4 separate regions of the Homo sapiens genome follow, and all the other regions are linked to region 1. Evidence: promoter capture Hi-C in human tissues and cell types (Jung and others, 2019). All regions are on one chromosome and are shown on one strand. The core of a region is centred on a gene start or on the middle of the fragment in contact, and the rest is flanking DNA. Distances in the headings are between cores, read along the strand shown.

Region 1 (2,986 bases), core at 1-2,500:
CATGGTGAAACCCCGTCTCTACTAAAACATAAAAAATTAGCTGGGCGTGGTGGCGCGAGCCTGTAGTCCCAGCTACTCGGGAGGCTAAGGCAGGGGAATCGCTTGAACCCGGGAGGCGGAGATTGCAGTGAACCGAGATCGCGCCACTGCACTCCAGCCTGGCGACAGAGCGAGACTCTGTCTCACAAACAAACAAATAAAAATAAAAGTGGCAGAGGCTTTGGGTGTCCTAAAAGTCTTGAGTTCAATACTGCACTGAAACCACCTGGCTTAATGTTACTTCGTAATCACCAACTGCGCCCTAACTCCGCCTAAACGTTTTGTCATAGACGTTCCCTTAGTGACAAGAGCGATCCTGGATCAGAACATGTATTCACAAGTGTTCTACAGGGAAAGAAAGCCGAGGGCTCCTCTCAAAGCACTGATCGCGTCAAAGTAGGAAGGCAGCACGTCATCACAACTTCCCCAAAAGTATCAGGGCAAAGCCAGCCAGCTACACAAAGTTGCAAGCTGTCAAACCCATTTTGAACTTCTTGAGTTCTGCTCTCCCAGGATGGGAAGGAACAAGTGGGTCCAGAACCCCGCAATCGTTTTTCCCGCGTGCTCACCTAACCCGCTCCGGCCACTCCCAAGGGATCCCGGAGAAGGGGTCCAGCTGCCCAAATGACTGGGCGCCTGATGGAGTGCCAAGCCGGAGCCTCACTGGTTTACCTGTTTTCTATTTCGACCGGATCCGCGTCAGGCGGCTGCACCTTCACCTTCACCTCCGCCATGAGGGCGCAGTTCCTGACGCCTGGGGGGAAAGATGCACGGAGCAGCCCGGTAGCAAGCCGGGGAACCCGGGGAACCAGTGGAGGATAGCGCTCTGCTGAGGCCGAGGGGCCTTCTTCCTCGTGTCGCAGCCGGTCCTTCCTTGCCTTTCGGCGGGAGGTGGCCAAGCTGCGCCTGCTCCGGCCCACTTACAGGCGCCGCTACAGCTTCTTATTCTTGTTTTCCAGAATGTCAATGCCCATCGGACGCACAAGCCTGGTTCCTTCATTCTGAGTTGGGAAACCAACTTTTAGCACTTGGCAACTCTGTGAAGGAATATTCTTAGATGCCTATGGGAAAGCACTGGGAAAGGAACTCCAGGCGGGTACCAGGCTCCCTGCGGAGCGGCAGGGGCCGGTCTAGTTGCTAAGAAGCTGAGTCTCCACCAATCATCTGCCCAGCACCCAGTGGGCGGGGCGCGGCTCGCCGCGTCTGTGGTAACCCGGGCGGCGGCGAAGGAGGAGGCAAGAGGCGGTGAGAGGCTGGCGACTGGGTTGGGCGCGGCAGAGATGCATTAGGGGTCCCGATCCCGGGCCCCGCGGTTAGAGGAAGAGGAGGGCGGCTAGAGGAGGGGAAGAGCTTCCCTTACTCCAGCCGAAAGGATGCAGGTGTCCTTGGCAGCCCCTGATGGGCGGGAACAACCAAACGGGATTCCGGATCCGGGCTGCGAGGGGGCGGTCCACGTTGGGAGAGTTGAGGGGTCTGGGGATCCTGTTGACTGCACGTTGCCATTTGGGCCTGGCGGATCCGCCTTTTTTCTTGATTCCCTTTGCGTGGGGCCCACTGGCCACCCCAGCTTCCTAAGGGCAGCTGCTAGTTGACGCTCGCGAATTACTTCCTCTCCTACATATTTTTTATTTAGAATTTTTCAACTACTTTTATTTTATCTGCCTTTCACTTAAATGGAAATGCGACTATGGGCAAGTCTCAAGTCCAGCCACACTCCCGTAGGAGCTATTGTTGTGCTGTCAGTATCTGTAGTTTATATTCTTGGCCCTAGATCCGGAACTATCCAACAAGGCATTAAGTTCACCCCTTAAATTTAGGTACCCCATTTTTGAGAATACAGTCTGTGACAAAGCTCAAACTGCAGACATGTTCAGATCAGCATTATTAGAACTGCAACAGGCAAAACTAAAAAGAAACTAGAAATAGCCTAAATGCCCAGCCACAAATGGATAAATAAGTACAGGGAAAACTAAATAATACAGTGAGAATGCAAGAAGTAGACTATAAAAATGGAATGAATATGTAGATTATAATTGGGCAAAATCTATGGATTATTAATGAAATTTGAAAAGGCAATACAGAGATGTAAATGGTTGTTGTGTTAAGGTGAGCGTTTTTTCCCCCTGAAACCTTCTGTGCATTAATTATGACAACCTTCCTCCCCACCCTCACCTCCAAAAAGACCAGTAAGGCTTTCATACTGGTAGTTAATTATTAATACCAGGATTTATAAATACAGTAGATGAAACGGGAGGCTTGTGTTTATTGGTCACTGTTTATATTCTTGCAAACTTCCTTTCCACTGAGAAGTAGTACTCTGCAGTCCTTCTAAAGTGTCTTTGCAGCTTTCAAATACTAGAACTGCTCTGGTGATAATGGCAAGGCTGTGAACCCGGAGCTTTCCCAAAAAAGTTAGCTCTAACTAACATTTTGTGGTACACACAGAATTACTTCTGTTCCCCTTGTATGATGACTTGCCCTGAAGCCAAGAGAGCTGACACACACCAGAGGCAGGAAAAGGCGATAATGATTTACAGGGAACTCAAGTCAGAGCGTTAGTGATAGTCTCTGTTTTGCCTTACTCATTTAATTTGTCCTTTTAAAGTAACTTCTTTCTTTTCCCCATCTCATTCATTCATGCTCCTTTCGCAGAAGTGAGGTATTTAGATAATCAAAACCCCACACAAGACCTCAACAGCAAATACAGATGAAATGTAATTATTATTTCAATTAAAAAGGGAATAATATTTGTAGTGCCATGTTAACAGTATTCTCTCGTTTTAACTAGTTTTGCTGCATTTAAATTAAGTGCTGCTCTTCAGCTTTTGTGTACATTGGAATTTATATGTATATATATATAGAGAGAGAGAGAGAGAGAGAAAATGACTGCTGGTTCAGTGTGTGTCCCTCAGATCATACCATTACGAGTGCCTCAGCCTGGAAAAGC
Region 2 (3,275 bases), core at 306-2,805, 70 kb before region 1:
ACTCGGGAGGCTGAGGCAGGAGAATGGCGTGAACCCAGGAGGCGAAGCTTGCAGTGAGCCAAGATCATGCCACTGCACTCCAGCCTGGGGTACAGAGCGAGACCCCGTCTCAAAAAAAAAAAAAAAAAAGAAATTCCCAGGTGGGGCGTGGTAGCTCACACCTGTAATTCCAACACTTTGGGAGCTGAGGCAGGCAGATCACTTGAGGTCAGTTCAAGACCAGCCTGGCCATTGTGGCAAAACCTTGTCTCTGCTAAAAATACAAAAACTAGCCAGACATGGTGGCTGGCACCTGTAAGCCTAGCTACTCGGGAGGCTGGGGTGGGAGAATGGCTTGAACCTGTGAGGTGGAGGTTGCAGTGAGCCAAGACCGTGCCTGGGTGATAGATCGTGCCTGGGTGATAGAACAAGACTTTGTCTTAATTAAAAAAAAAACAAAAAGAGAAGAAACTGCCACAGCCACTCAGCCTTCAGCAACTACTAACCTGATCAGTCAGCAGCCAACAACATCAATGTAAGACCTTCCACCAGCAAAAGAGTATGACTCACTAAAGGATCAGATGAGCATTAACATTTTTGAGCAATATAGTTGACCCTTGAGCAACACAGGTTTTTTTATTTATTTATTTATTTTTTATTATTATTATACTTTAAGTTTTAGGGTACATGTGCACAATGTGCAGGTTAGTTACATATGTATACATGTGCCATGCTGGTGTGCTGTACCCATTAACTCATCATTTAGCATTAGTTATATCTCCTAATGTTATTCCTCCCCCCTTCCCCCACCCCACAACAGTCCCCAGAGTGTGATGTTCCCCTTCCTGTGTCCATGTGTTCTCAATGTCCAATTCCCACCTATGAGTGAGAACATGCGGTGTTTTTTTGTCCTTGCGATAGTTTACTGAGAATGATGATTTCCAATTTCATCCATGTCCCTACAAAGGACATGAACTCATCGTTTTTTATGGCTGCATAGTATTCCATGGTGTATATGTGCCACATTTTCTTAATCCAGTCTATCATTGTTGGACATTTGGGTTGGTTCCAAGTCTTTACTATTGTGAATAGAGCCACAATAAACATACGTGTGCATGTGTCTTTATAGCAGCATGATTTATAGTCCTTTGGGTATATACCCAGTAATGGGATGGCTGGGTCAAATGGTATTTCTAGTTCTAGATCCCTGAGGAATCGCCACACTGACTTCCACAAGGATTGAACTAGTTTACAGTCCACCAACAGTGTAAAAGTGTTCCTATTTCTCCACATCCTCTCCAGCACCTGTTGTTTCCTGACTTTTTAATGATGAGTAACACAGGTTTGAACTGTACAGGTCCACTTATATGTGGATTTTCTTCTGCCTCTGCCACCCAAGACTGCAAGACCAAACCCTCCTCTTCCTCCTCCTCCTCAGCCTACTGAACATGAAGATGAGAGTATGAAGACTTTGTGATGTTCATTTCCACTTAACAAATAGTAAATACACTTTCCTTCCCTTATGATTTTCTTAATAACATTCTCTTTTCTCTAGCTTACTTTATTGTAAGAATACAGGACATAATATATATTACTTACAAAATATGTGTTAATCAACTGTTATCGGTCAGGTTCCCAGTCAACAGTGGACTACTAGTAGTTAAGTTTTGGGGGAGTTAAAGTTATATGTGGATTTTTTTTTTTTTTTGAGATGGAGTCTCGCTCTGTTGCCCAGGCTGGAGTGCAGTGGCACGATCTTGGCTCACTGCAAGCTCTGCCTCCTGGGTTCACGCCATTCTCCTGCCTCAGCCTCCCAAGTAGCTGGGACTACAGGCACCCACCAACACACCTGGCTAAATTTTTGTATTTTTAGTAGAGACAGGGTTTCACCATATTAGCCAGGATGGTCTCGATCTCCTGACCTCATGATCCGCCCGCCTCGGCCTCCCAAAGTGCTGGGATTACAGGCGTGAGCCACAGCACCCGGCCGTTATATGTGGATTTTTAACTATGCAGTGTCAGCACCCCAACACTACTCAAGGGTCAACTGTAAAGTATTTTTTTAATCCAAGAATGAACAATGTTTTCAAAGACATAATGCTATTTAACACTTAACATACTATAGTGCAAACATAACTTTTATATGCAATAGGAAACCAAAATATTCATGTGACTTGCTTTATTGCAATATTCACTTTATTGTGGTAGTCTGGAACTGAACCCACAGTATTTCCAAGGTATGCCAGTAGAGTAAAATGTTAATTACAGAATCAAGTTGATGGGTTCACCTAGGTAGTACGTGTTCACCGTACAATTCTTTCAATTTTTCTGTATGTTTGGAATTTTTCATAATAAAATATTAGGGAAAGAACCGATGCACTAAAAAATTCACCAACATTATGATGACTGGTAAAATCTATTACACTTCTAATGACCTTATCAGTTCAACAATAAAAGGACAAAAGTAATTTGTTGCCTGACTCCGACTAAACCCTTGAAGGAATAAATAAGAAAAGGTCATGCCAGACTATCATCAGGCCTAATACAATACCCAAGGAATATTGGTTTGTGAAGAAAGTAACCAGAGACCACTGGTTTGAGATAAATCACAAAACAGGACACTAAGACATGAAGACATGTGAAGAAATCCAACTCACCTGATTGACAACTTCAAAATAGATGCCAAGTGTAGATGTAGGATCTAGGCCACAGATTTTCCACTGACTCGTGCCACCAACACCAAGCTCCTGGGGGTGGGAAGAGGAATTTGAAAAACAAAACCAGAAAACCATCCCTGTGGTTAATTGCTAATGAAAAGTACTGACTGAGTAGGGCAGGCTACTTAGAGTATCTTCTTTTAGGAGAACATTTAAGTTGAAATAAAACCTTCTCCTGAAAAGAGAACAGATGAAGGCTTAACATTTACATTTACACTTTAAAATTAAGCTTTTTATATTAACATTCTGACCAATTTTTATTACATCATATATACTATACATATATATTATTTATGTTTATTTATTTTGAGATGGTCTCTCACTCTGTTGCCCAGGCTGGAGTGCCGTGACACAATCACAGCTCACTGCAGCCTCGACCTCCTGGGTTCAAGCAATCCTCCCGCCTCAGCCTCCCAAAGTGTTGGGATTACAGGTGTGACCCATCGTTCCGGGTTTACACATATACTACGTGTGTGTGGGGGGGGGTGGGTGTGTCAGGGGGTGTCTCTACATGGTATATAACGCTGAAATCCACAAAGAATCAATCAAGTCAGACTCTTAAGAAAGACCCTTAAGGTG
Region 3 (3,277 bases), core at 627-3,126, 70 kb after region 1:
CCAAAGTGTTGGATTACAGGCGTGAGCCACCATGCTCGGCCTCTTTTGAAATTCTATAATAGTCTATGATTAATTACATGTAACAAGCAGTTATGGAGGAAAATGGAACTTGTTCCAGAGCATAGTTGAGGTTCACTAAGGAAAGTCCATCACAAAGTTTGACAAAGGAAATTAACCTCTCTAAGAACATATGTTCCATGCTATCATTTTTCTTTCTTAGTCTCAGGAGAATCATCCAGATGGCGGGGTTTCTCTTCTTTCTTAGGGTACTGGAGAAGACAGCTGGATCACATCTCTGCTCACCTCAGGTGTTATGCTCAGAACAACCCTGAATTCCGGGCCTTGATTGCAGAACCCAGGATGGGAAAGGTGGGTGAGATGAAATTTCCACTCCACAAGTGTCCACGGGATCAGGCTGAAGGAACCCTCCATGGACTTTGCCTGAAACTGCATCTTGCCTGGCTCCTTTCCCTTTCCTGCTCTGCTTTCTACACTTTCTTACTCTTCTGCCTTGTGAGCTCTGCTCTAATAAATCACTTGCACATGAATATTGTCTCAGAGTCTGCTTCTGGGGCACCTGACCTAAGACAATAAAATTCTGAACATCTCATGCTCAGATGTCACATTGGAAATTCTAACAGTCAGAATGAAAGGTCCCAGAACAATTTAATCCATCCAGATCGTGCACTTAAATCATACACTGTTAATATATAGCAATAGTGACATAACAGCTGCCATTTTACAGTGCACCCAGCATCAGCATTGTATTCATCATTCTTGCCTTCACAGCAAACCTGCAAGGGAGGTGTATTACCTTTGTGATCACTTTAAAAAAAATAACCACAAATTCCTTGACTGTCTTCCCCTCAAATGGTAGAATCTGTGTCCCCTCACCTTGAATCTGGGCGGGTCTGTGACTGTTTGACTAACGGACTATGATGGAAGTGATGCCATGAGACTTCCAGGGCTTGGCCACATAAGGTCATGTGGCTTTCTCTTGCTTGGCACACTCACCTCCAGCACTTCTTGGAGCTCAGCCACCCTGCTATGAGAAGCCCAAGCTACATGGAGTGGCCGCATGTAGGTGCGCCAGCTGAACCCAGTCCTCGAGTCATCTCTGCTCATGAGCCACATGAGTGACTAGACTCTAGATGATTCCCGCCCCCAGACATCCAACCACCTCTAGCCATTTGAGTCTTCCAGCTGAGGCCTCAGACATGTGGAGCAAAGACAAGCTATCTCTGCTATGCCCTCTCTGAATCCATAGCATAATAAAGTGGTGGTGGTTTAATTTCACTAAGTTTGGGGTGGTTTTTCACACCGCAGTTGATAGTCAGAAGAAGCCTTATTTGACACCCAGGAATTTTGAAGCTCAGAGAGGTTTGGTGACCTGCCCAAGACTACACTGCTGGGTCTCATGGGGTTCAAGATTTGAAGCAGATCTGTCGGACCCTGTCAGAGTCCCATGTCCTTTCTTTGATACTACATTGCCATTATAAAAAGACAGCTCTGTGAGAGGACCTTTCCTCTGTTTGTCGCAAGACTAGAAGGAACTTTATGAAATAGGCTGTGTACTCTTCTGCTGCCAAATAGGCCAACATCAAGACGATCTCATTTTCCAGTATTACCCAATTTCCTTTGATAATCTATTTTGGTAGTTTATGAATTTCTTCAGCCTAATCCAGAGATCTGCAAACTGTGGCGGTTGAGACAAATCTGGCCCGCTGCCCAATTTTATAAATAAAATTTTATTGGATCACAGCTGCACCCATTCCTTTACTTATGTGGCTGCTTTGTGCTATGACAGTAAAGTATTCACAATACAGAACATATGGTCCACAAGACCTAAAATATTTACTATCTGACCCTTCATGAAAACATTTCTTGTCCCTTGGCTTAATCTAAATTCCTATTGCTACTTACACAGAAAGCTGCTCAACTGTGATACTTGTCCCTTAATTACCAAGCCCTGTCCCCGCCCCCTACCAGGATATCTTTTCCAAGGTGATAACATCTAGTCATGTAGTTTGATTAAAGTGCATCTCTTGAAGAATGCATAGATTTGGATCTTGCCTTTTTATTCAATTTGGCAGTCTCTTTAGAGTAGTTTATTTATAATTAGTAGAGTTTAGATATGGTTGGATTTGGATCTGCCATTTTGTTCTTTGTTTTCTATTTATCTCGTCTAGTTTTTGTTGCTCTGTTTTTCTTTTCCTACTTTCTTCTGTGTTAATTAAATATTTGGTTAAATTTAGAGTTTGACATCTCAGAATTTGTACACTGTTACTTAAGGCAATGAGTCCCACACCCACAGTTATGAATTCTCTCTACAACTCTTTTAAAAGCTTATCTCTGCTACTGTCCACGAAGATGGTTGTGAAGTTAGCATCAGACTGAATTATAGTCAAGTCTCAAACAAGGTGAGTAAGCCTCCAGAAGTTATTCATTTGAGAACTGACCGATTAGTAAATTGAGACAATTTATAGAAATGCTTCTGTGTAATCCATAGAAAGGAAAAGTTTCACACATTATGAAATGCTACTAGAGGCAAGCAATTTCATAGAATTAGATAAACAAGTTAAACCTCAGACAGGCACATGAAGATATAGTGAGAACAGGAGTTGTTCTGTAGTTCTCAGGCTTATTCAGACTCACTGAAGTCTGATGGCATGTCTGTGATATAATTGATTTGGGGAAAGACTAACAAAAATATTTGCTGATATGCCCTTTGACATATTTTCTTCTATAAAATAAACCAAACTTTGTGGCCATGTGTCCTTGATCTTCCCTTTTATATGGTGACGGGGGCATTGCCACAGAGCCTGTAAATGTGTTTCAAACATTAATTGATTGACATTAGCAGCTTTAGTTTCACTGGACAAAAAGTCAGAATAATTAATCAATCAATTGAGAAGCCAAGGAAAAGGAGGGAAATTAACATTTATTAGGCCCTGGCAAGGTGCTAATGGTGTTGTTGAAATTGGGATAGAAGCATGGGCCCTGTCTAACTCATGGGGAGGCTGGGAGTATCTAACGAGCTAATGCACATGAATGTGCTTTGAAACCAAATAAAGCACTAACTGCTCTTTTTAATTGTTGTGACTAGAGCAGAGCTTGGGTCAGAGAGGAACTTCAGGGGAAGGGAAGTGAGAGAAGCAGGTCAAGGAAGGGGAAGGGACTGAATGAGCAGGTAGACAAAAGCAAAGTTGAGCTTTAGCCTGATCCAAGGGGAACTCTGGAGAATGAATTAAACCACAAAGTTGTCCCCAGTTGAGGC
Region 4 (3,272 bases), core at 30-2,529, 98 kb after region 1:
AGTGTGTGATGTTCCCCTTCCTGTGTCCATGTGTTCTCATTGTTCAATTCCCATCTATGAGTGAGAACATGCGGTGTTTGGTTTTTTGTCCTTGCAATAGTTTGCTGAGAATGATGGTTTCCAGCTTCATCCATGTCCCTACAAAGGACATGAACTCATCATTTTTTATGGCTGCATAGTATTCCAAAACAATAGCAAAAACTTGGAACCAACCCAAATGTCCAACAATGATAGACTGGATTAAGAAAATGTGGCAAAATCTTTGCCCACTTTTTAATAGAGTTGAGAGGTTTTTGTTGAGTTGTTTGAACCTCTTGTAAATTCTGGATATTACTCTCCTATTGGATGTATAGTGTGCAAATATTTTCTCTTGTTCTGCAGATTGTTCACTCTGTTGATTATTTCTTTTGCTATGCAAAAACTTCTTAGTTTAATTAAGTTTCATTTGTCAATTTTTGTTTTTGTTTCCTGTGCTTTTGATGTCTTAGTCAGGAATTCTTTGCTTTGACCAGAAAAGTTTTCCCTAGGAATTCTTATAATTTTTTCAGTTTCTGCTTTTATATTTAGGTCTTTAATCCATCTTGAGTTTTTTTTTTTTAATTTTTGAGGCAGGGTCTTGCTCTGTCACTCAAGCTGGAGTACAGTGGCAGGATCATGGCTCACTGCCATCTCAACCTCCTGCCTCAGACTCCTGATTAGCTGGGACTATAGGCTTGAATTTATTTTTGTATATGGTGGGTATTAGGGAGTCTAGTTTCATTCTTCTGCATGTGACAATCCAGTTTTCCCAGCCACATTTATTGAAAAGGGTGTCTTTCCCCCCAGCGTATGTTTTTGTCAACTTTGTCAAAGATCAGCTGGCTTTAGATATGTGGCTTTATTTCTGGGCTCCTATTCTATTCCATTCATCTGTACATTTATTTTTATACCAGACCATGCTGCTTTGGTTAGTGTAGCCTTGTAGTATAACTCAGGTAATGTGATGCTTCTAGCTTTGTTCTTTTTGCTTAGGTTTGCTTTGAATTCAGGCTCGTTTTTGGTTCTAGACCACAAAGACAAGCAGATTAAGAAAAAAAAACCCACAAAAAATACTAGATAACAATTAACATTATGTCAGGAATGAAACCTCACATATCAATATTAATGTTGAATATAAATGGGCCAAGTGCTCCACTTAAAAGATACAGATGGGTAAAATAGATAAGAAAAGCCTGCACCAACTATATGCTGCTTACAAGAAATTAACCATACTGATAAAGATGCTTATAAACTGAAGGTAAAGAGATGGAAAAAATATTCCAAGCAAATGGAAATCAGAGGTGAGCAGAAGTAGCTATACTTGTGTCAGATGAAATGGACTTTAAATAAAAAACAGAATAAAAAAAGACAAGGTCTTACATAATGATAAAAGGATCACTTCAACAAGTGGATAACAATCCTAAATATATATGCATCTAACACTGGAGCACCCAGAATCATAAAACAAATATTACTAGACCTAAAGAAAGAGATAGACAGCAATAAATCATAAGCTGTGGGGAGGGGATTTCAATACCCCACTCACAACACTAGACAGATTATCAAAACAGAAAATTAACAAAGAAACACTGGACTTAAGTTGGACTTTAAATGGACCTAATAAACATTTACAGAACCTTCTACCTAACAACTGCAGAACATAAATTCTTCTCATCGGCACATGGTACATGCTCCAAGACAGACCATGTGTTAGTTCATCAAACAAGTCTCAATACATTTTTAAAAAAGAAATACCTAATGTAGATGATGGGTTGATGGGTGCAGCAAACCACCACGGCACATGTATGCCTATGTAGCAAACCTGCATGTTCTGCACATGTATCCCAGAACTTAAAGTATAGTTTAAAAAATTGAAATTGTATCAAGTATCTTCTCAGACCATAGCAGAATAAAACTGGAAATCAATACCAAGAGGAACTTGTGAAACTACACAAATACCTGAAAATTAAACAACACATTTCTAAATGATCTTTGAATTAATAATTAAATTAAGATGGAAATTTTAAAATGTTTTGAAACAAATGAAAATGGAGACACAACATAGTAAAACCTCTGGAATACAGCAAAAGCAGTGCTAAGAGGAAAATTTATAGCATTAAATGCCTACTTCAAAAAAATAGTTCACTCTGTAATCCCAGCACTTTGGGAGACCAAGGCAGGAGGATTGCTTGAGCCCAGGAGTTTCAGATCAGCCTGGGCAACATAGCAAGACCCTGTCTCTAAAAAAAAAAAAAATCACGAATTAACAACCTAGTGTCACATCTCAAGGAACTAAAAAGAGCAAGAAGAAAGCAATCCCAAAGCTAGCAGAAGAAACAAAATAACAAAGATCAGAGCAGAACTAAATGAAATTGAAACCAAGGAAATTATTCAGAAGTAGAGAGGTATTAGTTCATTCATTAATTACCTTGATTAAAAAAAAGTTTAGCAGACATTAATTCAATATTTATTTATTTTAATTTTTATGAGTGTCAGTTCCCAGGCCCCTGATTTAATGGGTGGTGATAAATGGCTCAGTTTTTAAATTATTCCTTCCCAATGTAGTGAGAGCCTCAGAAATTTTACTACTGATCCAAACAATACTAACAATTTTTTTCCTCTCCACCCTCAACCTCCACTTTCTCCCCTGTATCTTGCCTCTCCTCAGCAGAAACTTCCTCCCTGCAACCCCATCAAACAGAGAAGAGAAAAAGGGGAAATTTGGGATTTGGGGAAACCTTTCCCAAACATGATTAAATCTCCAGCAGGGAGAGGCATTCTTGAACTTGATTTTATATAAATCAAGCTTGATCCACACTCAAGCTTGATCCACAATCCCACTGCCAGCTGTTGTGGTGTTTTAATTATTTCTTCTTGCTAGTTCCATCCTCAAATGTTCTTTCCCTTTTTCTCAAAGCATGAAAAAAGAAACTGATGAAATCTGGGCACTTATTCTTTCCTTTTCTGAGTAATGCCAAAGACTCTCCTTGACTAAACTTTAGTTAGGCTCATCTAAGCCCTCTAGGCCTCAACCTTGGCTTTCGTCCTTCTTGGGCCTGCATTGCTGAGTTTTAGTGAGAATCTTGCTAAGTCAGTTTAGAGAGATATTCCCCACCCCTCATACCTGATCACTCTCAATATCCAATCAAATTCCTCATCCTCCAGCATCCCCCAAGTAATATGTGATTATCCTGGCCTGCCTTCAGCAAGAATCCTGTTGAATCTGTTTAACCAGGAGGCCCCTTTCCTCTGAT

Evidence for each region. The method cuts DNA at HindIII sites, captures the fragments that hold promoters and counts their contacts. A contact is called where the count stands out against the background at its distance.
Region 2: a fragment that was not itself captured here is called in contact with the fragment with the promoter of DZANK1 in region 1 in 5 of the 25 tissues and cell types used here (H1 embryonic stem cells, heart left ventricle, liver and 2 more).
Region 3: a fragment that was not itself captured here is called in contact with the fragment with the promoter of DZANK1 in region 1 in 3 of the 25 tissues and cell types used here (IMR-90 fibroblasts, liver and spleen).
Region 4: a contact is called between a fragment that was not itself captured here and the fragment with the promoter of DZANK1 in region 1, in 9 of the 25 tissues and cell types used here (H1 embryonic stem cells, IMR-90 fibroblasts, heart left ventricle and 6 more).

Annotation. Positions count from the first base shown.
Region 1 is chr20:18,465,294-18,468,279 of GRCh38, reverse strand. It overlaps DZANK1 (double zinc ribbon and ankyrin repeat domains 1), which reads left to right and starts at 1,250. Exons shown (of 21, transcript NM_001367614.1): 1 at 1,250-1,284; 2 at 2,903-2,986. The coding sequence starts at 2,922. It overlaps POLR3F (RNA polymerase III subunit F), which reads right to left and starts at 890. Exons shown (of 9, transcript NM_006466.4): 1 at 712-890. The coding sequence starts at 773. RefSeq lists enhancers at 810-1,129, 752-1,370. The HindIII fragment of the contact is 23,548 bases long and covers 1-2,986 here.
Region 2 is chr20:18,535,104-18,538,378 of GRCh38, reverse strand. SEC23B (SEC23 homolog B, COPII component) reads right to left here. Exons shown (of 20, transcript NM_006363.6): 12 at 2,637-2,726. Among named protein-coding and RNA genes, the nearest start is that of SEC23B, 29 kb to the right of the region's middle. The HindIII fragment of the contact is 5,606 bases long and covers 1-3,275 here.
Region 3 is chr20:18,395,615-18,398,891 of GRCh38, reverse strand. It overlaps DZANK1 (double zinc ribbon and ankyrin repeat domains 1), which reads left to right. Exons shown (of 21, transcript NM_001367614.1): 14 at 266-369; 15 at 2,346-2,420. The region is part of intron 1 of LOC124904877 (a long non-coding RNA gene); the gene reads right to left. Among named protein-coding and RNA genes, the nearest start is that of LINC00851, 18 kb to the right of the region's middle. The HindIII fragment of the contact is 4,316 bases long and covers 1-3,277 here.
Region 4 is chr20:18,366,903-18,370,174 of GRCh38, reverse strand. No RefSeq gene overlaps it. Among named protein-coding and RNA genes, the nearest start is that of ZNF133-AS1, 9.3 kb to the right of the region's middle. The HindIII fragment of the contact is 8,499 bases long and covers 1-3,272 here.